Linked DNA regions of Homo sapiens: region 1 is linked to region 2. The links are contacts of gene promoters, found by promoter capture Hi-C in blood cells and fetal thymus (Javierre and others, 2016). All regions are on one chromosome and are shown on one strand. The core of a region is centred on a gene start or on the middle of the fragment in contact, and the rest is flanking DNA. Distances in the headings are between cores, read along the strand shown. Region 1 has its middle 600 kb from the start of ZNF385D-AS2. Region 2 holds the start of UBE2E1 (ubiquitin conjugating enzyme E2 E1).

Region 1 (4,178 bases), core at 149-2,648, 1.2 Mb before region 2:
TCCCACTATACTAGCCTTCTTTATGTTCTTCAAATACTTCAAGCTTATTTCTATTTTAAAGCTCTGTCTCTTGCTTTTCCCTCTGCCTTGCAAGACTTGCCCCAGATATTCACATGATGCTGCCTAAGCCCTGCAGACTCAGCTCAAGTATTCTCTCCTTGGTGACATTTTCTGGACTGCACAAGCTCAGAGCACTTAGCACTTTAAAATTGTTTTATCATCTCCTCTAAGCTCCACAAGAGCATGGAGCATGTCTATCACATTCAACAGTAGAGATGCCTAGTGCCTGTAAGTGCTTGACAAACAGTAGATGTTCAAAAAGGACTGCTGTTACATGACCGAGTATGTGTGCATATGGTTTAGTGAGAGAAGGTCACTTGAAAATTGCAACTTAGCCAATTGCCCAGCCATGAAAATTTAAAGAAGAATAAGCTCTTTCTGCCAATTCATGCTGTTTGTGCTATGCCCTTATGTGGCAGGTTCTCAAATCAGCAACGGGTATTTGGTGGCAGAATGGCAGTGGTGATTTTGGTGATGATGATGATGACTAAATGAGTTTTCCTGCACTGTACCCTCAGATAACAAGTCTGTACACAGGCCAAAAACCTCAACCAACCAACCTCCAACTAACGGTCAGAAAAGATAGAAAGTAAATTCTTTTCTGCTCCTGAATTTTAATTGTGACTTGCAACGTACATGTGTTTCTCCTTTATCTTCTCTAAGCGCAAGGCACTGTCAGTTTTCCTCAGCGGCTTGCTACAATGAAGTGTGTATGTCTATGCATATATGTATTCATTCCTCAGGATTTTGAGTGAAACTCCAAGTTTTATTTACACTCGCAAAGCTTCTACAAATTTGTAAAGCCACAAAACTCAAGGCTGACTCTAAAATCTTTAGACATGCCATTCCAATTTGGTGGCAATCAGAGTTCAGGTCATATTTATGTGGCTTCTTAGTCCCAGCAATATTTAAACTTCAAATGCTGAGCATCGTATGTACAAGCATGATGCAGTGCAACCTGAACCTGGAAAAAAAAACACTCCAGCACCTTTGATTGTCCTGTTGATTGCAGAGTGGTGAACCCATGTACACTGACTTTTCAATCAACCACTTTTTGCCTCAGTCGGCTCAGAAAGAGAACTTCAGCTAAATAAATATTTCTGACAATTGACCTGCAGTGCAACAAGACGCTCACAAAAGAAAAAGGAAAAGATACATCTAAACTGCCTGTCAGCTTTTCTTTTTCTGATAGAAAGTAGAGCTTCAGATACTCTGAGAAAGATTCCAATTTGTACAATTTGTACATACTGGTGGTAGCAGAAAATAAAGCCAAACTATAAGGGAGTTCAAAGTGTCACTCATTTTACAATTAAAAATCAAGGACATCAGGAAGGAATGAAAATAACTCACTTGTATAGAGGCAGTGAAAACAACATTCACGTCACAGATATAGCCATTTCCATCTCCACCCTCCTCATTACTCAGGCTGAAAAATGGAAGAGTGAGGCTGTCTTACCCAGGCTGAACTCTTCCCTGCAGCCAGAGAAGGGGAGACAGTGGAGGAACCTAGCTGTGTCAAGCTAGCTCTGTGACCTTGGTAGGTCACCTCATGGCTGCACCTCTCTTTTCCCATCTACGAAATGCGGAGGTGGAGATGAGGATTGTAATTCCTGTTAATTCTAATATTCTAATAGTTTGTTTTTCACAACCTGCAGAAAAACATAAGGGAAAACAACTTGATACTTCTATTCTCTCCTTTCAATACAAGTAATACATGAATCACTTAAATTCAAATTGAAAAAGAACAAATAGAATTTCACCCCTTCTCCCTATTCCTAGTTTTCTCAATAATGTGTTTTAAATCTATTTCCATATCTTTCAGGACCCAAGGATATTTCTTCCTAATTTCCACCTCCAAATTTGCTACTTCATGGCACTTACTTTTTAATGAGTAAGCTTCTGCTTTCTTCAAGAAGCTATCTGAGAAGGTGGGGTCAGAGAACCAAAAGATATCATTTATTCTCTTAGGAATCTGAGACTATAAATATTTTGTTATGGGTGCAGATTCTTTTAACCTGAAGTTTAGATCATGTTAAATAGAGAGTATCTGCCTTAAAACAGCTTGACATGTGACCCCTATATTTATAACCCTTCTAACTTAAAACTGCAGTACTCACCAAAACTCACATATACCATTGCCAAAAGATTGCTACTTAAGTATGTTTTCCATATTGGGACACATAAGCCAATCTACAACCATGTATATACAATGCAAACATTTATTTCATAATTACTTTTTAATTTTGTAGATCTTCTTCAATTTGTGAATTTCCTTTGCTTTGCTGTACTTGAAATGGACAGCACATGCATGGCCCATAAAATTAAAAACCAAAAAAAGTCAATGAAATCTTTTATTTGGGAAATTAATTCTTGATGGTTTGAGTCAACAAGAATCAAGAATAAAAGATTCTAAATCTACTCTGTGAGATAAAATGGTCCCATTGCACAGTGAGTGCTCTCCTTCAAGGCAAGCAAAGAGATGCTTGAAGCCCATGATAGTGCTAGGCCCATAGAACCAATGATGATAAGAAAGCTGTTTTGCTAATGTAGGAAATAGGAAAACTTTTTATTCTATTGTTCTAGAATCAGATGATGTAAATTCCTATACCTGTATACTAGACAGTTGAAACAGTCTTGGTGACACTGATACCACAAAATTTTCTCACCAAACAACAGAACTTGGCAGGCCTAGTATCATATTCAGCCATAGTTCAATCATAAAGGAATTTGGAAAAAACTCTGCCCTAAGTTTGGTCAAGATCTTGAAACTTTATGCTATAATAAGTATCACTGAAACTGTGACAAACATTACACACATTACACATATCCTAGAACTAAAAGTTTCTTTCGTGGTTTGAATTATTGGATCCAAAAATTTTAGCATTGAAATTCTTATTGAAATGGAAAAGTAAGAACTGTTGAAGATTTTTTTAAAAAAGAACTAAGCATGAAAACCATACTTTAGCTAACAGAAAACTTTTCAGTATTCTCCTAGATATAGATACAAGTAAAATAAGCAATGCCAGCATTCTGGAGAATAGTTCTCCCCTTCTCTGTTGCTATTCCTACTTTATTGCCTTCATAGAAACTTTCCCTCTCTGACATTGCCAGATTTGCTTACCTATTCCATGTATAATATCTATCTTCCCCTAATAAAATGTAAGCTCCATGAGGACAGACACATTATGTCTCTTGTTCACCATCATATCCACAGCAAACATTTGAAAATAAAATAATTGAATAGACGAATGTATAAATGTATGAGGTAAAATTTGAATGTAGTACAAAGTTTCTTGACATGATGAAGCATGCCTGTATTGCTACAAATAAGGATAAGTAGAAATACAAATAAGTAGAATAAATAGGAAGAGAGTCATCTTTAATAAAACCTGCCTAGCATTTTAAGAAGCCTCAAATAACTTGTGCAAAAAAGTTACCAATATTATTATCCAATAATATGTTGGATAATATATTACTACATAAATAAATGTATTGTGCCTTATAATTTAAATACTTGGTGGTATACGATTAAAGCATTCTTTAAAAAGCATGTATTTCTGTTTGACTTGTTTTCTGATAAACTATTCTATTTAAATAGTGTGAAATGTGCTTTTAGAACCTAAGTACAGCATACATAACATGAACACCGTCTATTTCAGAAATAAAAATTCAGTTTACCATTGTGGGACTTAATTCATTAGTTTTTGATGTTTTAAATTAGGGATTTCTTATTTACAGTTTTTTTTCCTACTTTTTCCGTTAACATGATCCTATTCATGTTATACATTTTATAACTATCATTGCACTGTATTCTAAATTATGTTAGGTAAGTATGTTATGAAAGCATAACTAGATAAACTGGACTACATCAAAATTTAACATTTCCTCATCAAAGGACACAATCAACAGAGTGAAAAGGCAACCCATGGAATGAAAGACAGTATTTATAAATCATATATCTTCAAATCACCAAACAAATGAAGAGCTCCTACAACTCAAAAACAAATAGTTTAAAAATGGGCAAAGCACTTGAACAGACTTTTCTCCAAAGAAGATATACAAATTGCTAAGAAGCATATGAAAAGAGGCTCAACATCATTGTCATTAGGAAAACGCAC
Region 2 (4,118 bases), core at 1,039-3,538:
TAAAGATTAGTCTTTTGAGAGGACTGGATTCTTTTCTAAACATTTTGAAGTTTTTATTCCCTGTCATCAGGTCATTCCAAAACGATAAAGCACTAACTTAAGCTAGCTGGAATTAGAGATTAGGGGGAACAGTACACAAAAGAGGGCAAGAAACCTTCCAGACAGGTGGTTGGGAAATCACTTTTCCTTATAGGAGGAGCTGTTAGATTTCATGATTTCTTTCACAAGGAATCAGTCCAACCCAAGCATCAGTAACACAACACAAAATATCATGTTCTGTTACAAAAGAATTCTTATTATAGCTGGTAGGCAATTTATGCAAACCAATATTAAAGAAAAAATTCACCTACTGTCCTGATCACTTCAGCAAATCAAACCTTTTATTTTCCTGTGATCTCTGCTAGTTCTTGTCTTTATAACACATGATTTTTTTACTGGTTGTATTCATAATGTAGACATATATTTTTAAGTATCAGAAATCCAAATTTTCATAGGAGGAAATTTCAATTTTAATAACTATTTTTAGATTATTTTCCTCATCCTGAGTTTATTTCATCTTCTTATTGTTTTCTTCTGAATTTACATCTTTTCATCAGAACAAAAAGAATACAATCAGTTTTTCAGAAGTTTAAAAAATTTTTTCAAATATATAGCAAAGAATGTCATCATTTTTATATACTCTACCAGGACTCCTGAAACCAAACACTTAAGAAAGGTTATGTCTGGAAATTTTTTCAAAATCTATATGCATTTCAGTGGTGGAGAAATAGTTCTGTCTGGAAGCAGGAGGCTGAAATTATGACCCTGAAGATTTCTTCCAGCTTTTGAACTTCTTATTCTATGACAACTCCTGGTAGATACAGGTTTCCTGGTAGGGATTGAGCAAGAAGCATGCACAATTACTTTATGAGTCTTGATAAAGCTGGAATTTCAGGTTGATGGTTAGAAGGAGTTCGGCTGGGTCGTGAGAATGCTTGTTTTCCTGGTTACTGGATATGCCATGGGCTGTATATCTTGTGTTGTCCTGTGGTAACTGAAGCCACTGTTGCTGTGGAAAATGATGGCAGTTTGAATGAGATAATTTAGAGTGACCTATGGAAATCTGAGGCTGTCTCCTTAATGTACAAGACCTTGTATGTGTGGCACTGTTGTATTTGAATGGCACACATCTCTTTAGTTCCCTTCAACTGAAATGACAAAAGGTGAGAAACTGAATCGTAATTTGATGGCTTAATATTAAAAAAAAATTGGCAAAAATGCTAAATAAGGAACAATTCAGAAGAATTGCTGATCATTTCAAAAATATTATTTGCATAGCATTTATAGGTAGCTAAAGAAAGAGAAAAATGGCTTAATATTTTAAAAATAATTTGGTCAATTTAGCGATCTGGGGATTCTGCGATCCCCAGAACTTTGCATCCAATTTCCAAAAACCAAACCTTACATCTAATGTAAAATGACACAAAAAATTCTAAATCCAGTCTAATTCAGTAGTATATAGCTTATTCCCAGTGATGTCTCACATTCGCAAGCCCGTTACACGTTGGTTTTACCTGTCACCAAAACCTTTGTATCACTCTTATAAAAAACCACATCACTTTCTATAAAAAGTGAGTGGAAGAATCTAATATTGTAAAACTGCACGTGCCTCGCGTGACCTGAGCAGAAAATTCCTAGTTTGGGATTTTCTCACAGGCATACCTAAACTGACCTCTGCTCCTAGCAGGTAAATTGCTAGAAGGAGAAGCAAGTGTCAGTCCAAAGAAAACCCTTGTTGTGTGATTTTTTTTTTCTCTTTAATCGCTTTTTAGGTGGAGTACCCGCTGCATTCTCTAAAGTCTTTGCCACCACCAGATTACCAACGTTTTCACCAATTTGCCACCTCCCTACTCCTCTCCTTTCCAAAAGCCCTCATTGGAAAGAACTTTCTCTCGTGACCCCCCTATTCCATCTAGTTCCAATCACTCCCAGCGCCCCCCATCTCCATCGGCTTCCCCTCTCCCGCCCAGAATCCAGGTTCCCAAACCACTTAAGAGAAAATTCACAACCCTCGCCCCCTTCCCGGGCGTCCGGAGGAGGCGCTGGGGTGGGGGTGTCTGTGGGGGACAGGGTTTCCTGGGGTCTCCTGGGTCTTCCTCGCGCACCCCCAGGAGGTGTTGCAGGGGGAGGGGAGCGCGGGTGGGTGGGACCGGGCCGGGTGGGGGAGGGGTGAGGGCGAGGAGGAGGAGGAGGAGGAGGCGGCGGCGGAGGAGTGGTGTGTGTGCGAGCGTGTGTGGCTGGGGGAAGCCATTGCCTGTTTAATAGTTGCTGTTGCTGCACTTCCGCTTCTCTCCCAGCGAGAGAGAGACACGAGTGGCCAGGCCCAGCCGCAGCCGCAGCAGCAGCCGCCGCGGCGGCACGGAGGAGCCAGACACAAAGAGAGGTACGGGGATCCCCCCAGCGGCCCGCCGCCCCCCGGCCGCGCCGCCGGGCCTCGGGGACACCCCTCGCCGCCTCCCCCGACTCGCGCCGCCGGGGCCGCCGGGCCGCAGGGCACGGGGCCGGCGCGGGGGGGGAGCGGAGAGGGGCTGGGGAGCCCCAGGGGTCCGGGGCCCGCCCGCGGGGGATGGGCAGGGACCCCGGGCCGCGTGGGGTGCGGGGGCCGCCCGCATTGAGGACGGGGGTCATTGTGGCTCGAACTGTCAGCGCTGCCCCAAGAGCCCCCCACTGGCCACCGAGGGGCCCGGGAGCGGGGGTGGGAGGGAGTTGGGGGAGCCCCGTTTTCCCCAGGGGCGGGGGTTCGCGGGGATTAACCCCTCCGGGGCGGAAGGGCTCATTGTTATGTCTTCGCTGCGGAGGCCGACCCCCCCATTCCCCGCCGCAGCCCCTATCCCCCTACAGGAGTGGCGATCGGGCGTGTGCTCCGGACCCCCGCCCGGCCGCATAGCTGTGAGCAGGGCGGCCAGAGGCAGGCAGGCCGGGAGGGGCGTCGGGGCGCGGCGCGGGGGGGCCTCGGGCCTCGTCGCCCCTGCCCCCCGCCGGCCTCTCCCTTCCCCCACCCGGGCACCCGCTCCCCGCCTCCGTCCCCCTGTTTCGGCTTCCTCTCTTACTCCTTCCCGCCCCTCCTCTCTTCCCGACCTCGCCAAACTCCGCTCGTGGCCCCACAGTCTCACCCGGGCCACCGGCCCCTCACGACCCCCGGAAAGCGGACAAAAACAGCCCCGAGGCCGGCCGGCCGCCGGGACCTTCCCTCCCTGCCCCGCCGTGGCGCCCCGCGCCCCCCGCCCTGCCCTCCTTCGCCTCCCGGGCTACTCCCTCCCTGCCCAGCGGAGAGCCCCGGGGGGCGAGGGAGGGGCCTCTCTCCTAGCTCCAGACCGTTTTCCCACAGCGTTCCCCACTTGGGGCCAAAAATAAACAAGCCGCGTCCGATTTGCAAAAGCCTTAATGGGCCTGCAGACTTTGAAAAGCGAGTGGAGGGCGGTGGGCGGCCGCGTGCGCCCCTGGTCAATGCCCTCCTGACAGCACCCGAGTTCCTTATTTACACTGGCTGCATGGTTTGTGTGTTTCTGTTTTGTTTCTCTCCCCCTGCAGGGGCTGTTTGCGGGGTGGGGTGGGGGGTTCGCTATGTCGGATGACGATTCGAGGGCCAGCACCAGCTCCTCCTCATCTTCGTCTTCCAACCAGCAAACCGAGAAAGAAACAAACACCCCCAAGAAGAAGGAGAGTAAAGTCAGCATGAGCAAAAACTCCAAACTCCTCTCCACCAGCGCCAAGAGGTACTGTGCTCTTTTTTTTTTCCACAGGCTTCCTATTTCCGAACTGCCTCTTGCTGCATTTGGTCTGCCTCCCAATGAGGATAGCTTAAACGCTCCTCATGGTTTATGTGTTCTTAAAAATGAAAGAAGGGCCTTGGAAGCCCTAATTATTTTCTCTATTGCTGCTTCTGTTTTTAAATCATTGCTCACATGCAGCTGTTGCGGCTTGCCTCTCGCATTTCTTGCTGAAGTTTGTAAGATTCCTCGTTACTTTTATTAGTGACCCCCAAATCTGATTTCAGATTTCTTGTCCTACTAATGGTTAATCTGTGACCTTCCCCAAGGCCATGATCCCATTTCTTAATTACTAATACCAGCCCAGAG

Evidence for each region. The method cuts DNA at HindIII sites, captures the fragments that hold promoters and counts their contacts. A CHiCAGO score of 5 or more calls a contact.
Region 1: a fragment that was not itself captured here is called in contact with the fragment with the promoter of UBE2E1 in region 2 in 1 of 17 cell types (erythroblasts); the score reaches 5.6 in erythroblasts.

What each region holds. Positions count from the first base shown.
Region 1 is chr3:22,555,686-22,559,863 of GRCh38, forward strand. No RefSeq gene overlaps it. Among named protein-coding and RNA genes, the nearest start is that of ZNF385D-AS2, 600 kb to the left of the region's middle. The HindIII fragment of the contact is 1,112 bases long and covers 843-1,954 here.
Region 2 is chr3:23,803,667-23,807,784 of GRCh38, forward strand. UBE2E1 (ubiquitin conjugating enzyme E2 E1) reads left to right here and starts at 2,289. Exons shown (of 6, transcript NM_003341.5): 1 at 2,289-2,422; 2 at 3,571-3,755. The coding sequence starts at 3,604. It overlaps UBE2E1-AS1 (UBE2E1 antisense RNA 1), which reads right to left and starts at 3,239. Exons shown (of 2, transcript NR_046652.1): 1 at 3,153-3,239; 2 at 358-1,048. RefSeq lists silencers at 2,225-2,334, 2,415-2,544, 2,735-3,034, 3,235-3,414 and an enhancer at 3,715-3,804. The HindIII fragment of the contact is 12,732 bases long and covers 1-4,118 here.